Regions from separate parts of the Homo sapiens genome. Here region 2 is linked to region 1. Evidence: promoter capture Hi-C in 16 types of primary human blood cells and fetal thymus (Javierre and others, 2016). All regions are on one chromosome and are shown on one strand. Each heading gives the region's core, a stretch centred on a gene start or on the middle of the fragment in contact. The rest is flanking DNA. Distances are from core to core; before and after follow the strand shown. Region 1 holds the start of H3C2 (H3 clustered histone 2). Region 2 overlaps CARMIL1 (capping protein regulator and myosin 1 linker 1).

The links. The method cuts DNA at HindIII sites, captures the fragments that hold promoters and counts their contacts. A CHiCAGO score of 5 or more calls a contact.
Region 2: a contact is called between a fragment that was not itself captured here and the fragment with the promoter of H3C2 in region 1, in 1 of 17 cell types (erythroblasts). The highest score is 5.2, in erythroblasts.

Annotation. Positions count from the first base shown.
Region 1 is chr6:26,028,536-26,033,714 of GRCh38, reverse strand. H3C2 (H3 clustered histone 2) reads left to right here and starts at 1,616. Exons shown (of 1, transcript NM_003537.4): 1 at 1,616-2,126. The coding sequence starts at 1,655. The coding sequence ends at 2,065. H2AC4 (H2A clustered histone 4) reads left to right here and starts at 97. Exons shown (of 1, transcript NM_003513.3): 1 at 97-623. The coding sequence starts at 147. The coding sequence ends at 539. RefSeq lists a silencer at 140-239 and enhancers at 23-652, 1,590-1,709, 1,750-1,979, 4,607-5,179. The HindIII fragment of the contact is 2,287 bases long and covers 1-1,638 here.
Region 2 is chr6:25,534,924-25,540,108 of GRCh38, reverse strand. CARMIL1 (capping protein regulator and myosin 1 linker 1) reads right to left here. Exons shown (of 37, transcript NM_017640.6): 25 at 2,126-2,254; 26 at 31-162. Among named protein-coding and RNA genes, the nearest start is that of SCGN, 110 kb to the left of the region's middle. The HindIII fragment of the contact is 3,740 bases long and covers 1,783-5,185 here.

The DNA.
Region 1 (5,179 bases), core at 367-2,866:
CTGATTTCCCATTGGGTATTTGACATTAGCCAATGGGAGAATTCCTCACAGCCTACCTCCAGTCAGTATAAATACTTCTCTGCCTTGCGTTCTAATGTAGTTTCATTACATTTTCTTGTGGCGATTTTCCCTTATCAGAAGTAGTTATGTCTGGTCGCGGCAAACAAGGCGGTAAAGCTCGCGCCAAGGCTAAGACTCGGTCTTCTCGTGCAGGTTTGCAGTTTCCTGTGGGCCGAGTGCACCGCCTGCTCCGCAAAGGCAACTACTCCGAGCGCGTCGGGGCTGGCGCGCCGGTGTATCTCGCGGCGGTGCTTGAGTACCTGACCGCCGAGATCCTGGAGCTGGCGGGCAATGCGGCCCGCGACAACAAGAAGACCCGCATCATCCCGCGCCACCTGCAATTGGCCATCCGCAATGACGAGGAGCTTAATAAACTCTTGGGGCGTGTGACCATCGCGCAGGGTGGCGTTTTGCCTAATATTCAGGCGGTGCTGCTGCCTAAGAAAACTGAGAGCCATCATAAGGCCAAGGGAAAGTGAAGAGTTAACGCTTCATGCACTGCTGTTTTTCTGTCAGCAGACAAAATCAGCCTAACAGCAAAGGCTCTTTTCAGAGCCACCTACGACTTCCATTAAATGAGCTGTTGTGCTTTGGATTATGCCGCCCATAAAGATGTTTTTGAGGTGTTTTTAATGGCTTTGAGTGTGGCACTTTTAGTAATTTGTCCTGCAGAAATTAGATCCATAGAAACCTCAGGAATTCTAGGTATGTGGGAGAAGTGCCATGCAGCACAAAACATGTTTACAGGGGTGATTCGCGTTAAGTTTCACACACAGCAGTTACTACATTTTAGAGGAAGGAAATTATACCCATGAGTGCATTCCTAACTATCTTGAATGGAAGTGTTAAAACCCGCATGCCCCACACAAGTTTGAATATGTCATACCATTTGCTGTAGCAATTAATGGCATACACAATTGAGAGCACACACATTACCACTGAACATTTGAGTATGTATTTCCCAAAATGAGCTTTTTTCCAGTTTGGGGATGTTTTGCTTTGTTTTGGGGTGGAGTCTCCCTCTCGCCCAAGCTGCAGTGCAGCGGCGTGATAACAGCTCACTGTAACCTCGAACTCGGGCTCAAGCGATCCTCTTGACAGCCTTCTGAGTAGCTGGGATTACAGGCGAGAGCCGCCACGCCCGGCTAAGAGCATTTTTCTAATTGCCCACACTTCTTATGCGACACCCAGAAAAATACAATTTTAAATAAAGCGCATATGCAAATTTCCCTAATCGTCTCCAATATTCTCTGATTTCTTTTTTATATTTTAACTAGAAACAATTGGAGGTTTCCGCGTTGCTTTGTGTGGTTGTAAATTTTAAGACTTCAGGAAACTTTTCCAGTACAAGACTTGTCCACAGTGGATATAGCAGCTAAGGGGTTAACAAAATGACGTCAGAGTAGCTACGGTAATGGGCAGGAGCCTCTCTTAATCTGCAACCAGGCACAGAGATGGACCAATCCAAGAAGGGCGCGGGGATTTTTGAATTTTCTTGGGTCCAATAGTTGGTGGTCTGACTCTATAAAAGAAGAGTAGCTCTTTCCTTTCCTCCACAGACGTCTCTGCAGGCAAGCTTTTCTGTGGTTTTGCCATGGCTCGTACTAAACAGACAGCTCGGAAATCCACCGGCGGTAAAGCGCCACGCAAGCAGCTGGCTACCAAGGCTGCTCGCAAGAGCGCGCCGGCTACCGGCGGCGTGAAAAAGCCTCACCGTTACCGCCCGGGCACTGTGGCTCTGCGCGAGATCCGCCGCTACCAAAAGTCGACCGAGTTGCTGATTCGGAAGCTGCCGTTCCAGCGCCTGGTGCGAGAAATCGCCCAAGACTTCAAGACCGATCTTCGCTTCCAGAGCTCTGCGGTGATGGCGCTGCAGGAGGCTTGTGAGGCCTACTTGGTAGGGCTCTTTGAGGACACAAACCTTTGCGCCATCCATGCTAAGCGAGTGACTATTATGCCCAAAGACATCCAGCTCGCTCGCCGCATTCGCGGAGAAAGAGCGTAAATGTAAAGTCACTTTTTCATCAGTCTTAAAACCCAAAGGCTCTTTTCAGAGCCACCCACTTATTCCAACGAAAGTAGCTGTGATAATTTTTTGTTGTCTTAACAGAACAAATTTCTAAGGACCCCCCCGGAAAGCATTAGACTATGGTCTTAAAGTTGATTAACAGAAATAACGGTTTGGTCAGTCTTGCAGTGTAGGTTATTTCTGACCTTATTAAGGTGCTATTTGGAGAGAAGCTGTGTAAGTCCACTATCATTCAGGCCTCTAGCTTGCTATGATTAGCATTTGTTTAAACAACTTTGTAAGAGTAAGGGAAAAATCTGGTAAGTAGTTAACTGGCGCTTACTAGGCATTTTTGCAAAGCTTTGAAAAGATTAGAAAATTGTGTCTTGCGAGTTCCAGTGTCTTCCTCAAAATGCTTAGGAAGATTTTCTCAGCTCAATACATAGTCCCCTAGGTTTTCTCATATATTATATATATATATATATATATATATACTGTTAAATTCATTTGGCTGTTAACATTAACCTGAAATTTATTCTGGTGCAAAATGTGAGGCAGGGATCTAACTGGCTCTCATTTTATCCATAGCTAGCTACCCACTTTAAATCTGTCAGTCTGTCGACCAAGCATAATTTAATCCCTTATATATGAATTTTTATATGTGTGGCTTTGCTTGTAAATAGTCTATCTGGTTGCATTGCTTTGTCTCCTCTAGGACTATGCACCATGACATGCCACATTCTTTTTTTCAGTACTTCTTGCCTGTAGTTATTAAAATCTAGAATTTACAAGTTTTAACCATTTTCTTTCTGTTGATCTTGCTTTTCGGTTTTGGAGGTTGGGGATTGAGTACTGGAAGAAAATTTAGAGGGATGGGAATACTGTACGCAAACAAAAGTAATATTTACTTTAAAATTTTTATATTTTGTATTTTTTTATCATATAGCTTTTACATCACATTTTACAGACTAACTTTAGAACAACCACAGAATGTCCAACATTAAAACTACTAATTCCAAAGACCTTGCCTCACATTCTTTTTTACAATAAATATTTTTTACACCTAACATTCTTTCTTGGCCTACATCTAGAATGTAAACTGATGTACCATACTAAAATCGCCTGACCAACTGTCAACAACAACAAATCACACACACAAAAGATTAAATTTGAATTGCATCGTTTACTTAAATTCATTTGTGTTCCAGCTTTTAATAAGGCAGTTTTTGGTTTATAAAGTAATATTTGCATTTTAAAAATTATGAAAATGAATATGTCAGTTTGTTTTATGATTCGTTTTTCTTGACTCTTATACAAGCGACTCTAACTGGCATAGACATTTGTTATCCACAGACAGTATAGATATGTTAGAGATGCCAATGGACTTGGTCTATGCCAAGGTGACTACTCACAAGCTCTGGGCCCAGCTGAAGGTCAAGTATTTTTTTTCCAGTTATAGATGTGCTGGATCTGATGTATAGCGCTTGACTTTTTATATTTTCTTTATCTGTAGGAAACAAATGTGTTGGAGGTACTGGGTCTGACGAATAGCATAAAAGAATAAAGTTACATTACTGTCTGAGGATCAGATGGACAGGGGGTGGTAGCTCAGTCCAGCTATTTTCCACTCCCTCACTTACATTCTTTGCCCCCTCCTCAACAGAACAAGGATTCTGCTGTAACTCTTCATTGACAGTTGATATTTAAAAATTAACGAATGGATGAAATTCTCATTTGTGAAAGAAAATTTATTGAGCATTTTGTATTTGTGAGTAGTGCAAACATTTTAATATTATATTAAGAATCTATTGTTTTGTATTAGAGGAGTAATTAAGGAGAGATTGGAGACAAAAAGGGGGTGTTGTTTGCAGAATATACCATCCAAAAATAGACCACTGTGGGATCAGGATTCTTTTGAGCTAAAGGCACTTCAAAAACAGCATTCAAGAAGGGAATTCTTCTAAACTTTTCTTTCTGAAAACAGGAGATAAAAGTTCCAATGTGAAAAATGCTCTGCTTGTACCAGGTGAAAAGACATATTCTTCAGCCCAGAGGCATAGATGAGATAATTCTGCACAAACACAGCAGGGAGTCATAGCCGAGAGACTTCTATACACAAACAAACCTTGTTAAAATAATCATATATTCCTTTAATCTCCTCATATGGTTTACTTTCCCACAATTGCCTCTCTTTAACTTAATGTGAAAGCATTTAGCTTTTGCCATTTCTTTGGGGCTTCACTTTTTTATGAGGGTTCTCCTGTCCCATAAAATTTACATTAAATACATTTGTATGCTTTCATTCTGCTAATCTGTTTTATGGCAAATGAATTATCAGGTCCAGCTGGAGACCCTAACAGAGTAGAGGTAAAATTTTGCCTCCCTACAAGATAGAGATTGTGTGCATTAAATGTTGTTTGTTCCCAGTTGTTCAGTTTGTCAGGCCTCTGAGCCGAAGCTAAGCCATCATATCCCCTGTGAACTGCACGTATGCCTCTAGATGGCCTGAAGTAACTGAAGAAACACAAAAGAAGTGAAAATGCCCTGTTCCTGCCTTAACTGATGACATTACCTTGTGAAATTCCTTCTCCTGGCTCATCCTGACTCAAAAGCTCCCCCACTGAGCACCTTGTGACCCCCACCCCTGCCAGCCAGAGAACAACCCCCTTTGACTGTAATTTTCCACTATCTACCCAAATCTTATAAAACGGACCCACCCCATCTCCCTTCGCTGACTCTTTTCGGACTCAGCCCGCCTGCACCCAGGTAGAATAAACAGCCTTGTTGCTCACACAAACCCTGTTTGATGGTCTCTTCACACGGACGCGCCTGAAACAGTTTAACAGGGTTTTTCCTGCCCAGTCACAACAAAGTGATGTTATGCTGCAGGCTGAAGTTTACAGCTAATGCTGTTGAAGTCTAAAATCAGTTTTGGTTTGTTAGATTTGGGTGAGATGGCTAAGATTCTCAGAGAAAGAAGTCAAGTTTGGGGTGCATTTTTCAGACTTAAAAATTTAGCAGTAGCCCTTGCAGTTTTTCCAATAGAAGTGATTTAAGAATGTTTTCAGGAAATTTAAAACAACAGTGAGAAGCGTGTATGGAGAGTTGAAC
Region 2 (5,185 bases), core at 2,403-4,902, 500 kb after region 1:
TTCATTTCCCAAATAACAAACCCCACAAACCTTTAGTTGTTCATCTACTACTCTTGTAACTTCTCCAGCCATTGATTCCAGGGTCTCCTGAATTGGACTGGATAGTAAGCCACTGGCTCCCGCCCAAGATGCACCACCAACATGGTATAAATTTGGTAACAACTGTAAGAGAAATAAAAAATAACCTCTTTAGAATTGGGTAAATATTTCAATCAAAGTCATTGCAGAGTGAATGAGAAGGGTGAAGGAATACTGTTAGGGATAATCTCTTCTCAGTCAAAGGCTCTTTGCACAGATTAATAAACTGAGGTCCAGACTATGGGCATTCCTTTTTATTCAATGAGTCACAGCAACCCTAAGAAACACTAGACTGGGTATTAGGAGACTTTCACATTGACCACTTCTGTCATTAAGCAGCTTTGAAACCACAGGAATAATACATTACCTCCTCATGTCTTTTTTTTTTTTTTTTTTTTTTTTTTTGAGATGGAGTTTCGCTCTTGTTGCCCAGGCTGGAGTGCAATGGCGCGATCTCAGCTCACTGCAACCTCCGCCTCCCGGGTTCAAGCGATTCTCCTGTCTCAGTCTCCCGAGAAGCTGGGATTACAGGCACATACCACCATGCCCAGCTCCCCTTCATGTCTTAATGTCTTCATCTGGGGTATGAAAGTTGAGCTGCTTTTACTCACAACACTTCTGTCACCAAAAGTGTAGGTGTTTGCCACACCAGGCAAGTCTCCAGTTCTCTGCATACACTAAATGGGTGTCCTACAAATCTATTCAATTCAATTCTGACACTGTCTACCCAGAGTTTGCCTGAGATCCCAAAAGTGAAGGACTCAGTCCCACCAGACTATCCCCAGTTCAGATGGCACTCACAGGTCCCAGGTTGTTACTGGTACTTCTAACCAATAAGCCTTAAATTCAAGGGGTTCCCATAAATCCTTTTTCAGGTTCCATAATTTGCTAAAATGACTTACAGAACTCAGCCAAGCATTTTACTTATGATTACTGGTTTATTATAAAAGATACAGCTCAGGAGGAGCCAAACAGAAGATGTATAGGGTGAAGTAAGGGGTCAGGGGAGCTTCGGGGGAGTTCTGCAGGTATACAGCCCTCCCAGCACGTTGATGAGTTCATCAACCCAAAAGTTCTCTGAAGCCTACTGTTTAGAGATTTTATGGAGGACCCATTACATAGACACGACTGATTAAATCAGTGGCCACTGGTGTCCATTCAATCTCCAGCCCCTCTCCATTTCCATGGCGTCCAGGGGGTGGGCTGACAGATTCAGTTCACTAATAACGTGGCTGGTTCCTCTGGCAACCTCCCCTATCCTGCAACTTTCTAGGGGCACAGGAAGAGTCACCTCATTAGGATAAACTCTGGTGTGATGAGAGGGGCTTTTTATTAATAACAAAAGATGCTATTATCATCTCTGTCACTCAGGAAATTACAGGGGTTTTAGAAGCTCTGGTTCAGGAACCAGGGACAAAGACCAAATACTATAACAAAAGATGCTTCTATCATCCCTATCACTCAGGAAATTACAAGGTTTTAGAAGCTCCATATCAGGAACTGGGAACAAAGACCAAATATACATCTCTTATTGTATCACAAGAGTATCTGATTGATCTACAGATTCCTCATACTAATGACATTCAGTGATTGTGTGATTCTAGCAGCAGAACCAAAACCAGATCCCAGTTTTTCTGACTCACAGTTAAGTCCTTACTCTACTAAGTCACACATTGGGAACCAAAGTCTAACGTGAGAGAAGCTTCCTTTTAGGGGTAACAGAGGGGAGTTTCATGTTATCAGCTTAGAAGCAGAATCATTTTAAATGAGCTGTTACTCATTTAAACGACAGCTCCCTCTCAGTTGTTGAGGGCCCAATCACACCCTCTGTGAATCACACTGGCCCTCTGCTTTTTATTCTATATCTTGATTATTGGTAATCAGCACAGGTACAGAAAGGAGGTCAAGGCTAATTCAGTTCACTTTGCCACTTGTTAGTAAACTTGGAATTGGGTAGAGAGAGAAAGTTGAAACTGGTTTCTAAAACTAAATTTTATGAAACGTTTTTATTATACCAGACTCTCACACAGCCTGAAGTGAAACTCACCGTTTTAGAGTTCTTAGCATCACGCATGAGCCGCTCTGCTGATTTTAAATCTTCCTGGATAGCGTCTCCCCCACAATTTCGTAAGGAGTTGAGATGATCTTGTACTTTCACACATATTCTGTCAATCATCTGCTCCAAACCAGAAAAAGGCAAGCATCCAAGTCAGCCCAGCCGATATTCAGATAGAAGGAAACACAGAACGAAGGAGTATGAAAAAAACTTCAGCAAACCACAGAATGCACAAGGATGAAAACCTCAAACCCTTCTAACTGGAGTCACTGAGAATGCTGCTTGTAAGCAATTATTAATTTACTTTATTCATGCAAGTAACCTTTGGCAACTTTAATGCCAGAAAAAAATTGAAGGCATTTCAGTTCCCTTTCCTGCCTTAGGAAATGCAGCACGTAGAACAAAAGTGAACACTTCTTGATGATTCAGAACCTCACTCAGTGACATTTTGCTAGATACTAACTCCTTCATTAACTTTTAGTGAGCACCCTCTATGTGTTAGACATAGAGTTAGGTACTGAGGAAACAGAGAAATAAAATGTGCAACACTGAGACTGTTGTAATGACTACAAAATGATGCCCAACAGCCAGTTGGTCTCAATACTATAGAAACCAGAACATCTCTTAAAAATTGGTATTTTAAAAATCGATTCAATTACATCAAGTATTTTTCTTTGTAAATTAAGAGCCACCAAAAAACAAAAACAAATTGAGGTTTTATTATATTAACATAGGTAGTAATGAAGTCAATATCATCTAGTTTCTATTACAATAAGATGCCTCCCCTACCAGTTTAATTGCACCTAAATCATTCTCAATTGTTTTACGGATATAAACACAAAACCCAATGGGAGATGGTGGATCTCTATGGTAGACAAAAAATATTTCAGAAAGGTTAAGATTATGCTCTTCTATATTTGTACTTATACAAAAAAGCATGAAGGAAGCCAAGAAGTCTGAAGAAAAAGATAACCACAGTGTGGTTTTAAAAGTGTCTCCAATATTTTCGTTAGAGCTGCCGGTTGTCTATTTATTTCATGTTCTTAAAAAAAGTATTCATTCTTCAAAGGCCTTACATGTCAAGAGTCCTCTTCCATCTGATAATTCATTTGGCAGAGGAGACAAACAATATTCTTTTTTAGTTAAATTCACACTTCTCTATTTTGAATTATTTGATATCATAACGATAGGAAGCTAAAGTCTGCCCTTCTTCCCCCATAAATTTCAAAATGATAGAGACTTTACACACTATTCCGAAGACTTCAGGTCTGATTACAGAGCCCATGTCTACTTGCTGTAGCACTGCCATCTCTCTTGCCTTTTTCTTTGTAAAGTCAGGTTCATAATATCTACCGCACATTCTTTATTAGTGTGTTATGAAGACAATTCAATAAAATAACAGCACTCAAGCACCTATTGTTGAAAAAGGGCCAGTAATGCCAAAGTTTATGTATAATAAAAACAGCTCCTATTGCTGTAAAATATATTGAGGTTACATACGTTATTATCTTGAGATCCCCCTAGGAAAAAGAAGTTGTATGAATATTGCTTCTCACATCAAATTCTCTGCCTAAAATCCCTAAAAATCTAAGACAAGAAAGTTATGATTCCTGCCTCTGATTGTAGGCAGGAATCATATCTTTCTGCATTTACACAATGCCCTGCATAGAGCTAACTATAAGTTTTTTAAAATCTTAATTGATAGAAATCATAACTCTTCTAACTATTGTATTGATCTGTGCCTCCTGAAGCAAAAAGGGTCATTAATAATTCATATCTTACCAAGAATGAATGCCTAATTTCAAGAGACAAACCACACACTAAGAAAGAAACTGATATACATTTGGGGCTGCAAAAGGCTAATTTGAGAGGCATGTGGATGAGGCACTATAAAGTTGGTATCTTTAATCACCACGAGAGAACAAAGAGACACTTGAAATGTATGCCCTTAAGCATTCACCAAGGGGAGAGGATTTACATGAACTCAACAAAAATGGTCTTTAAGTAGAACATTTAAAATGTCATGCAAAAGAACAATCAAAATTAAGTTCTTCAATTCAAAGAAGACATAAAATCTCATGTCTCCAAGATTCCTCTGAGCATAGCTCAGCAGACCACATTTAGATCCTTTACCATGAAAGAGCTCAAAGCTCAGAAAAGGTAAACTATTTAAGATGACATGCAATGATTACACAGAGTACAGATTGAAAATTTTGAAAAAAGTAAATCAAGGGGTTTATCAGTTCATAATTCGTCTCTCAAGTACATAAATACGAAAAATAAAGGAGATGCAATCTGAAAGGCTATAATCTCTTGGGTTACCCCGTTAGAAGACCTCATAGAAGATGGTTGTGTTAGGGCTGTTTAGTTTAACCTCTCTACTTCACCCTAACCCTATAGTGTTCAGTTTCTCTAAAGCAATACAGAAAAGTTGTTGACGGCCATAGTTTATGAAGCTCAATTCCTTCCAAGAAAATGTACCCTGTCATTCCTAGATAAGGTTTTGAGTCTTAATCTGTCTTCTTACACCCTTCCTGCAGGTCCCATATCTTCCCCTTGAGAACACTCTGCACAATCATATGCTCTCTTCTAGTGACAGTCCTGCACATATTTAAATACACTTATTTTTCTTCCTTAGCCTTCTTTTCTTCAGGTTTAACATTCCCAGCTCCTTTTCCCATGCCTACGCTGACACAGTTCTCCAGTCCTTGACCTCCTTTCCTGTAGGTCACTTCTGCATTCTGTCTTCCACCTAGAACCTCATGAAGTCTCCTTAGTGAAATGGATTGTAACTAAGAGTGGACTGGAAAGCACAGAGCTGAGATGAACAGAGCTATCGTCTTCCTTACTGTAGAAAGTATACCTTCATTAATACGGTACAAGTCAAATTGACTTCTTTGGCAACTACATCACACCACTAACTCATATCACACTTGCTGGTGACTACCTAGGCTTTTTCAGATATACTGGGCTATTGAACCCACGGGTAAGAATTACAACTATTAGCAATAAATGCCATCTGTGGTTGCTCACAAGTTGATACAACTGTTC